Linked DNA regions of Homo sapiens: region 1 is linked to region 2. Evidence: promoter capture Hi-C in 16 types of primary human blood cells and fetal thymus (Javierre and others, 2016). All regions are on one chromosome and are shown on one strand. The core of a region is centred on a gene start or on the middle of the fragment in contact, and the rest is flanking DNA. Distances in the headings are between cores, read along the strand shown.

Evidence for each region. The method cuts DNA at HindIII sites, captures the fragments that hold promoters and counts their contacts. A CHiCAGO score of 5 or more calls a contact.
Region 1: a contact is called between a fragment that was not itself captured here and the fragment with the promoter of MRPS27 in region 2, in 1 of 17 cell types (total CD4 T cells). The highest score is 8.0, in total CD4 T cells.

Annotation. Positions count from the first base shown.
Region 1 is chr5:65,554,560-65,559,192 of GRCh38, reverse strand. CENPK (centromere protein K) reads left to right here. Exons shown (of 11, transcript NM_022145.5): 3 at 4,247-4,396. The coding sequence starts at 4,286. Among named protein-coding and RNA genes, the nearest start is that of CENPK, 6.3 kb to the left of the region's middle. The HindIII fragment of the contact is 8,637 bases long and covers 1-4,633 here.
Region 2 is chr5:72,316,822-72,321,898 of GRCh38, reverse strand. It overlaps MRPS27 (mitochondrial ribosomal protein S27), which reads left to right and starts at 1,659. Exons shown (of 11, transcript NM_015084.3): 1 at 1,659-1,750. The coding sequence starts at 1,678. PTCD2 (pentatricopeptide repeat domain 2) reads right to left here and starts at 1,526. Exons shown (of 10, transcript NM_024754.5): 1 at 1,390-1,526. The coding sequence starts at 1,516. RefSeq lists enhancers at 1,328-1,537, 1,598-1,927, 1,526-2,066, 2,067-2,608. The HindIII fragment of the contact is 19,626 bases long and covers 1-5,077 here.

The DNA of each region.
Region 1 (4,633 bases), core at 179-2,678, 6.8 Mb after region 2:
TTATTTAGGTCTGCCTTAGAACTTCTCTGTTAATAAGTTATTGATTAAGCAGTATAAAATGCAGAAGTTCCATATGAATAAAGATATTGAGGAGGGGTATTCTGATTTGCGTTTGATGTGGGGTAGACATCCTCATCATTCTTTATTGCACTGTCTACCTCCTTAAAATTGCCCAGTTTTGAATCTTATGCCACCAGACTCTAATCCTCTTCCATTCTTTGCAGGAATCATCTAGCAAGATTGTTTTACTCACCCTCATTCCTTGAAGATTTTTAGCTCCTGGCTCATTGCCCTTTGCAGTACTACTATCATAATTCTTAGTGATTTTAATATCCTTATAGATGATCCAATAACTTGGCCTCTCTTTTTCTTGACCTTCTTTCCCCTAGTGATTATGTTCTCTCTTGTCTTAGCTACTTATTCCTATGGCCATTCTTTCACTTTGTCCCTGTCTGTACCTGTGGTGCTACACCATAGAAGAAAACATACAACCATGCTCTGGTTTTACTTTAAACTCATGATACTAATCTCAGGTGAGCCTGTAATGCTACTACTGAATAATCCTGTAACTTTATCCTCTCCCATTTTTTTATATATCTGTTTTATACATCTCTTTTCCTGTGCTCTTAAACTCGCAGTACTTTCTTCCCATCCTTTCATAGCTGATAACCGTAGTTACCATTTTACGGAGAAAAGAGAAACAATCCACATAGAATTTCTACAAGTTCCTAGCAACACGTCTACTTACCTACCTGCATCTACACTCTTGATATTCTGATGACCCTCCCATTAAAATGGATGAACTGCATGTCCATTTATCTTAAGCCAACACCTCTACTTATGTACTAGATCCCATTCTTTCTTCTCCCCTTTCTCTCTTGTATTAGCAACATTTCCTTCTTTTACTGTACCGTATAAAGATGCTATATTTTCTCCCATCTTTAAAAAAGAAAAAGTCTCTTTTAACCCTATATCTCCCTCCAGCTACTAACTGTATTTCTCTCTTGTGCTTTAAAGAAAAAAAAATGTGTGTGTGTGTGTTTTCTTTTTGTTTGTTTTGTTTGTTTGTTTTTGGTATGGTCTTAACGGTCTTGCTTTGTCACCCAGGGTGGAGTGCAGTTGTGTGATTGTGGCTCACTGCAGCCTCAGTCTCCTGGGTTCACCGGGCTCAAGTGATCCTCTCACCTCAGCTCCTGAATACCTTGGAATACAGGCATGTGCTGCCATGCCTGGCTAGAGAAAACGTTCTTGAAAACGTTTCATATACTTAATATTTTTAATTCCTTGCCTTCCATTCTTTCTTGAATCCACTCCAATCAGATTTTTATTCTTGCCATTCTTCTAAAACTACTCCTATGAAGGTTATCTGTGGCCTTCATTTTTGTATGTTTACTCCAAGAAAATTGTTGTGATAAATTACCCCAGAATGTAGAGGTGTAAAACAACTATTTATTACGCTCATGAGTTTTGTGCATTAGAAATTCAGACAAGACACAGCAGGAGCAGCTTCTCTGTTCCACAGTATCTGGAGCCTTGGCTAGAAGATCAAAGCCTAGGGGCTTAATTGTCAGAAATGATCGTGTGTATGTCTGGGAGTTGATACCAGCGTTTGTCTGGGAACCTCAGTTCCTTTCCTCATGGACTTTATGTTGATCTCTTCCTTTTGTGCTACTTTGGGCTTTCGCATAACATGGTGCCTGGGTTGCAAGGGTGAGTGTTCCAAGACACAGAAAGCCAGAAGTTAGCTATATTGCCTTTTATGACTTAGTCTTGAAAGTCATGTGGTGTCATTTTCATTGTATTCTCTTTATAAAGACAGCCACAAAGTCACACTCAGTTTCAGGGGGAGAGGAAAAAGACTCTGTCTCTTGATGGGGAATGATGAAATATTGCTGTGAGTATTTTTAGAAAAAACAGTTTGCTCCTCTATATTACTAAATAAATTGTCAATTCTCTGTAATTTACTTGACCTGTCTCCAGTGTTTGACAGTTATCATTCCTTCCTTGAATACATTCTTGGATTTCAGGGTATCATGCTCTTGATTTTCCTCTTAACTTACTGAGTGCTCCTTCTCAGACTATTCAGTTGGTTCTTACCTCAATAGCTCCTGGCCTGAAGATCTTCTCATTTCTAGCTGCACACTCTTCCTTTTCTTATTTCACCTATCCTCACAACTGTAAGTACAGTCATGTGTCACTTAACAACGGGGATATGTGTTGAGAAATGCATTGTTAGATGATTTCATCATGTGAGCACAAACCTAGATGGTATAACCTACTACATACCTAGGCTGAATACCGTAGGTAATTGTAACAGAATGGTATTTTTGTATTTAAACATTTCTAAACATAGAAACGGTACAGTAAAAAAAATGGTATGAAAGACAAAAAGTGGAACACCTGTCTAGGGCTTTTACCATGAATGTAGCTTATAGGACTAGAAGTTGCTCTAGATGAGTCAGTGAGTTGTGAGAAGATATGAAGGCCTAGGACATTACTGTACCCTACTGTAGACTTTGTAAATACTGTACACTTAGGCTATACTAAATTTATTTTTTTAATTATTCAATAATAAATTAACCTTAGCTTGCTGTAAGTTTTTTGCTTTATCTTTTTAATTTTTTAACATATCAACTCTTTCATAAAAACAGCTTAAAACATAAACATGTTGTATAACTGTGCAACAATATTTTCTTTCTTTTTTTATTTTCTAATTTAGAGACAGAGTTTGTCTCTGTCACCCAGGCTGAAATGCAGTGGTGTGATCATAGCTTACTATAACCTTGAACTCCTGGACTCAAGCGATCTTCCTGCCCCTGCCTCCTGAGCAGCTTGGGCTACAGGACTGGGCCACCTCACCCAGCTAATTTTTAAAATTTTTTTATAGAGATAGGGGTCTTACTTTGTTGCCAGGCTGTTCTGGAACTCCTGAACTCAAGTGATCCTACGACCTTGGCCTCCCAAAGTGTTGTGATTACAGGTGTGAGTCACTGCACCTGGCATATTTTATGTCTTTTTTTCTAGCTAATTTATTTATTTTTATTTTTTACTTTTTTAATTTCTTTGTTAAGAACGAAGACACAAACACATTAGCCTAGGCCTAAGGCAAGGTCAGGATCATCAAGACATCAGTAGGCAATAGGAATTTTTCAGCTCCATTGGAACCACTGTTATATGTGCAGTCTGTGATTGACCAAAATGTCATTATGTAGTGTGTAAGTCTTATCTGTGTGATGATGGCTGTCAAATTCATATTGCTAGCTCAAAACTTTGCTTTCAACTGCAGACATGTATATCTAATTGCTTAATCAGCAGCTCCAATAATTGACACCTCAAATGTAGCATATCCTAAACTGAGTTTTTAATCAGCACTTCTCCCATGTTTGCCAAATCTGTTTCTTTTACCATCTTTCTCACCTCAGTAACTGGCAACGTAATAATTCACTTCTCTCTGACAGTCCATATACATGCTGTTAAGAAATTCTGTTGGCTCCATCTTGAAAATATATCCAGAATGGGACATTCTGTGCTGCTTCTATCAATATTATCCTGGTCTACATCTTGCTTGGGTCATTGCAGTAGCTTTCTAATTGGTTTTCCTGCTTCTATCCTTACTGCCTGTAGTTAACCAGAGTTGTATTGTTAAAATGTAATTCAAATGATTCATTCCTCTGTTTAAAACTAATTGCTTATCATCTCAAAGTCCTTAAAATAGCCTACCAAACCCACATGATCTCATCCCTATTGTCTCTCTGACCTCATATTCTACTCTGTCTTACTTAATCTGCTGTAATCACACCAGCTCCTTCACTACTGTGGAAACATGGCAGTCATATTCCTGCATCAAGGCCTTTGCACTTGCAGTTCCCTCTGTCTGAACCCTCTGCCCCTCTTCATCCTTGACCTCATTTCTTTATCTTCTTCATGTCTTCTTACTCAGTTGTCAATTTCTCAGTAACCTTATATGACCACCTTATTTAAAATTATATTGTCCTTGCCCTAGCATTTCCTATGTTTCTTCCTTGTCTTTTCTCCATGGCACTTATAAATCATTTGATATACTACAGTATATATATGTTTTATTTTTTATTTTATTGTCTGTTTTCCTTACTTAGAATAAGGTTCACGGTAGGAGGGATTTTTGTCTATTTTGTTCATTGCTATATTCTTACCCCCTAGATGAGTATCTGGCAGGTAATAAGTGTTCAACCAATACTGCTGAATGAATAAATATTTTTTGCTTTAGTTTTTCTTATAAGGCTAAAAATTCACAAAGCATATATCAATGAATCAGGAGGATCTAGATCCGGATAGTACTACAGATGTGGGAGATGTTACAAATACTGAAGAAGAACTTATTAGAGAATGTGAAGAAATGTGGAAAGATATGGAAGAAGTAAGTTTCAAAAGATAGAAGTGATAGTTAATATAAGATTTAAATCAACTTCAATAATAAATAGACTCAGGAAAGAAATGATTGTGCTAGTTTCCAAAAGCCATTATGTATGATAAATATTTATATAGCTTTTAGACCTATCAGCATTCATTCAAGAAACTTTACACTAGATGAGCTATAGAAAGAAAAATTTTGACAATCCATGCTCCCAAGGAGATTACAATCTTATGGAAACAA
Region 2 (5,077 bases), core at 410-2,909:
GGTTGACAGGAAGTTGGGATTTGAAGTACAAATGGGCATTTGCCATCGGTTAAGGGTATCAAGGGCATTTAAAAAAAAAACTAATAACATTTAAATGCAAAACAGGCATATTTAGTTTTGGTTTATCCAGGGAGAAGCACAGTGTAGTGGAAAAAGCTGCAGCATGACCACTGGAACTCCCAGTTTTGTCCTCTGTGAAATGAGGGGGTTAAGGCCTCTCAGATGTGGACTCAAAATACATTTGAGATACATGGAAATCATTGATCACAGCTTAGTAGATTTGGGAAACATCATCCTTTCTTTAGGATCCTTGGCTGTGCATGAGATAAAACGGACCAAGCGTGGCCGAAGAATCACGCACTAACAGAGTTCTGTGAGCTGCAGTAACAAGGTAACAATAAAAGTTGCTATTTATTTACAGAAAGGCAGTCCAGTGAAGTGGTTAGGAGCAGGTTTCTATTGTTGGGTGTGTTCAAATCCCACCTCTAACAGTTCCCTCTGACTTTGGGCAAATTACTTAACCTTGTTCCTCCTCTGTAAATGGAGAAAAGAATGGTACTTCTCTTGCTGGGTGTTGTCTAGAGAAAAGGAATTAATGTATGTAAACTACATTAAAGTAATGCCTGACAAACATTTTTACTATCACTCACTAGCATCTTCAGATTTAACTCTCTTCATAGAGATGTTAGAGGATAGTTTTGAAAAATGAAGAAACGTGCCGTTAAGTCTTTTAGATTGTTAGCAGAACTGAGACTCCATAAGACCTCTGCTTCCAAACTCTGCAGAAAAGAAAAAGGCCGGGCGCGGTGGCTCACTCCTATAATCCCAGCACTTTGGGAGGCCGAGGCGGGTGGACCACGAGGTCAGGAGTTCGAAACCAGCCTGGCCAACATAGTGAAACCCGTCTCTACTAAAAATACAAAAAATTACCCGGGCGTGGTGGCGCACGCCTGTAGTCCCAACTACTCGGAAAGCTGAGGCAGGAGAATCGCTTGAACCCGGGAGGCGGAGGCTGCAGTGAGCCGAGATCGCGCCACCGCACTCCAGCTTGGGCGACAGAGCAAGACTTCGTCTCAAAAATAAATAAATAAATAAATAAAAGTCACCCAAGGCGGGAGGGATGTTCCTGAAGACGAACGTCGCCCCATCTGAGGGAGCACTACAGCCCCAAGGTCAATACCCCAGCAGTCCTTCGATTTGCAGGCACTGGGGGTATCCACGACCCCCAGTGGTCACCACTGCACCCACGTGCAACTAGAGGGCGAGGGTGCGCTCCAGGCCAGTGAGTGACTTAGGAGCTGTGGCTGCTCCACAGAGATGCTAGCTGGGATCTAACACTCCCTTCTCTCCCATCCCTCCCCTCCTTCCCTAGGCTAAAGCCGCGGATACCTCCGAGAGGGCAGCGGCAGCTGACAGAGCCGGAGCCTCCCACCCCAGGATACACCAAAATCTGCAGCGCCTGCAGGAGAACTCGATTCGAGGGCCGAAATGCAGCAGCCATACTGTCTCGGACCATACCAACTACTGGAACCGGGGCGAGGAGGCGGAGCGTCGGTCCTGTCGTCGAGAGCGACAAAAGGGATTCGTCCAATTCTGGGCGCCCCGAGAGGTCGAGCTGTAACCCCGCCCCTTCCTCTGTCCGTAACCCGTTGGCTGTTCCTTTTGGTACGCTCCAAGATGGCTGCCTCCATAGTGCGGCGCGGGATGCTCCTGGCGCGGCAAGTGGTTCTTCCTCAGCTCTCTCCTGCAGGTTGGCCGGACAGCTTCATTAGGCCCCTGATTATTCTGTTTTTTGGGTGAAGGGAGCGGTGGGCTTTCAAGAGGAGAGGAAACGTTTCTGGAATCTGATTGCTAGGGACGCCATTTGGGGTGTTTGGTAGTGCAGAAGAAGGAGACAAGGTATCTGATCCATTTCCTTCCCTAAAATAACAGTATGTTCCTGTCCAAAGGTACGAAGAGCAGTGGAAGGTTATATAGCATGAGGGAATTTGCGTATGATTCGCCAGATTTATGTGTTGGGGTGGTCGTGCTTTTGCTGACCACGAAAAACCCAAATGTGCGCCGGGCGCGGTGGCCCACGCCTGTGGTCCCAGCACTTTGGGAACGCGAGGCGGGCGGATCGCCAGGAGTTCGAGACCAGCCTGGCCAACAGGGCGAAACCCCATCTCTACTAAAAAATACAAAGAAATTATCTGGGCCTGGTGGCGCGCGCCTGTAATCCCAGCTACTCGGGGGGCTGAGGCAGGATAATCGCTTGAACTCGGGAGGCGGAGGTTGCAGTGAGCAGAGATCGCGCCACTACACTCCAGCCTGGGCAACAGAGCGAGACCCTGTCTCAAAAAAAAAAAAAAAAAAAAAAAAGGAAAAACCTAAATGTGTCCATTCCTGGGGCTGGGACATTTTTCTCCCATCTGAGGTTTCTTTAGAGGGACGTCAGATAAACATTTTTCCCACCACCACACATTTAGCTGGACCCCTGGTCTTCGTGGAAGAATTTTTCAGTATTAATCTCATTTTATCTGATGACCTAGAGCACAACTTTTGATTGACCTTTCTTTGCTATAGTTTTCCACGTGTAGATAATAAATGCTATTAGTTACTTGTAAAATACTTTGATATCTGAACTAAATGGCAGCCCACTCAAAGCCTGCATAGTGGATCTGATAATGAAAACATTGGAAAAAAGTTTTAAAGTATTTATAGAAGCCAAATTTGCAGTGATTCTAACCACATAATCCAGACAGACATATTTGATAAAAATGCAATAATCACACTCGATTTTTCCATTGCCGCTTATCTTCCCTTTCCAACCTACCTCCCATCCTCTATTTTTTTAAAAAGCACGCACTTCTTTAGGAACAGCCATTAAACGTCAATGTGAAACCTCAGAGTTGGCCACCAGTTTTCTGAAGATTAAGTGGCTGACCTGGTGAAAACGTTTAATGTCACACATTAGGCAGTGTTATGCACAACGCTTGACACCTTAGTAAGAATTAGCTGTTGTAGCTATTTTCTGTTTATGTGGTTTCCGTGAACAACTACACACAGAGGGCATTTTGGGAGACCTGTCTTTCCCCACAATCACCTCCCCAGCCTTTTTTTTTTTTTTCGGGTTTCGTTCTTGTTGCCCAGGTTAGAGTGCAATGGCACGATCTCGGCTTACTGCAGCCTCTGCCTCCCGGGTTCAAGTGATTCTCCTGCCTCAGCCTCCCGAGTAGCTGAGATTACAGGCATGCGCCACCACTCCCGGCTAATTTTGTATTTTCAGTAGAGACGGGGTTTCTCCATGTTGGTCAGGCTGGTCTCTAACTCCTGACCTCAGGTGATCCACCCGCCTCTACTTCCCAAGGTGCTGGGATTACGGGCGTGAGCCACTGTGCCCAGCTGGCCCAGCTTTTTAATCTCCCAGTTCAGAACTCTTGAGCAATGATCTAGATATTGTCCTGACTCCAGAATGTAGAAAGGTGATTACTTATGCTAGAATGAAGCATATGCTAGAATGAAGGCATAGAGAATAACAGATAATAAATAGAGAGTAAGCAAGTAGCTGGTATGCGGGAGTACAGTTGGCTTCCTTATCCGAGCATTCTGCATCTGCAGAGTCAACCAACAGCGGATCAAAATACTACAAAACAAAACAAAAACTAACAATAAAAAATAATACAACAGTAAAATAATACAAAGAAAATACAACATGACAACCACTTACATTGCGTTTACATTGTGTTAGGTATTATAAGTAATCTACAAATGACTTAAAGCAGCTTGTCCAACCCTCAGCCCAGGACAGTTTTGAATGTGGCCCAACACAAATTTGTAAACTTAACTAAAATATTAGGAGATTTTTAGCATTTTTTGTTTTGTTTGTTTGCCCATCAGCTATCATTAGTGTTAGTGTAGTTTATGTATGTGTGGCCCAAGACAATTGTTCTTCTTCCAATGTGACCAGGGAAGCCAAAAAAATGGACACCCCAGCTTAAAGTAATGCAGGAGGATGTTTGTGGGTTATTTGCAAATACTGTGCAATTTTATGTAAGAGACTTCTGCATTCTCAGATTTTGGTATTTGAGGGGGTATTCTAGAACCATCCCCCTGGGGCAGGAGAATTGCTTGAACCCTGGAGGCAAAGGTTGCAGTGAGCCAAGATCATGCCACTACACTCCAGCCTGGGCAACAGAGAGATACTCCATCTCAAAAAAATAATAATAATAAATAAAATTAGGCCGGGTGTGGTGGCTCACACCTGTAATCCCAGCACTTTGGGAGGCTGAGGTGGGTGGATCACCTGAGGTCAGGAGTTTGAGACCAGCCTGGCCAACATGGAGAAACCCTGTCTCTATTAAAAATACAAAATTAGGCGTGGTGGCGCATGCCTGAAATCCCAGCTACTCAGGAGGCTGAGGCAGGAGAATCGCTTGAACCTGGAAGGCCTCCGCCTTCCGGTTGCAGTGAGCTGAGATCATGCCATTGCACTCCAGCCTGGGCAACAAGAGCGAAACTCCATTTCCAAAACGAAAAAATAAATGGAAATTAATTTAAATAATTATAGTCTTTTCTTAGTTCTCCTTTTGAAAGCGTCTTTGGAAACCTTATTGTTGCCTCATTATTTAATTTGTAGAACTCAAATTTAGATATATTATTCTAGTAAAGATCTGTGTTCACAGTAAGAGAATGAACTGTGTATAAATTCACACAGATGTGTTTGTATTTGTTTATTTGTTTGAGCTGGAAAGTAGGTAGAGAATAAAAACAGCATTCCAATACTGTGTTTAATCAGCCCCCATGCTATCTAGTTGTGTTGGGCTTTTGGTCTGCTGTGACCTCAGCATAATTATCTGTCATTTTTTCTGTTTGTTTTTTTTTTTTTTTGAGACGGAGTTTCGCTCTTATTGCCCAGGTTGGAATGCAATGGCGTGATCTCGGCTCACCACAACCTCCACCTCCTGGCTTCAAGGGATTCTCTTGCCTCAGCCTCCCAAGTACCTGGGATTACAGGCATGCACCACCACGCCTGGCTAATTTTGTATTTTTAGTAGAGGCAAGGTTTCTCCATGTTGGTCAGGCTCGCCTCGAACTC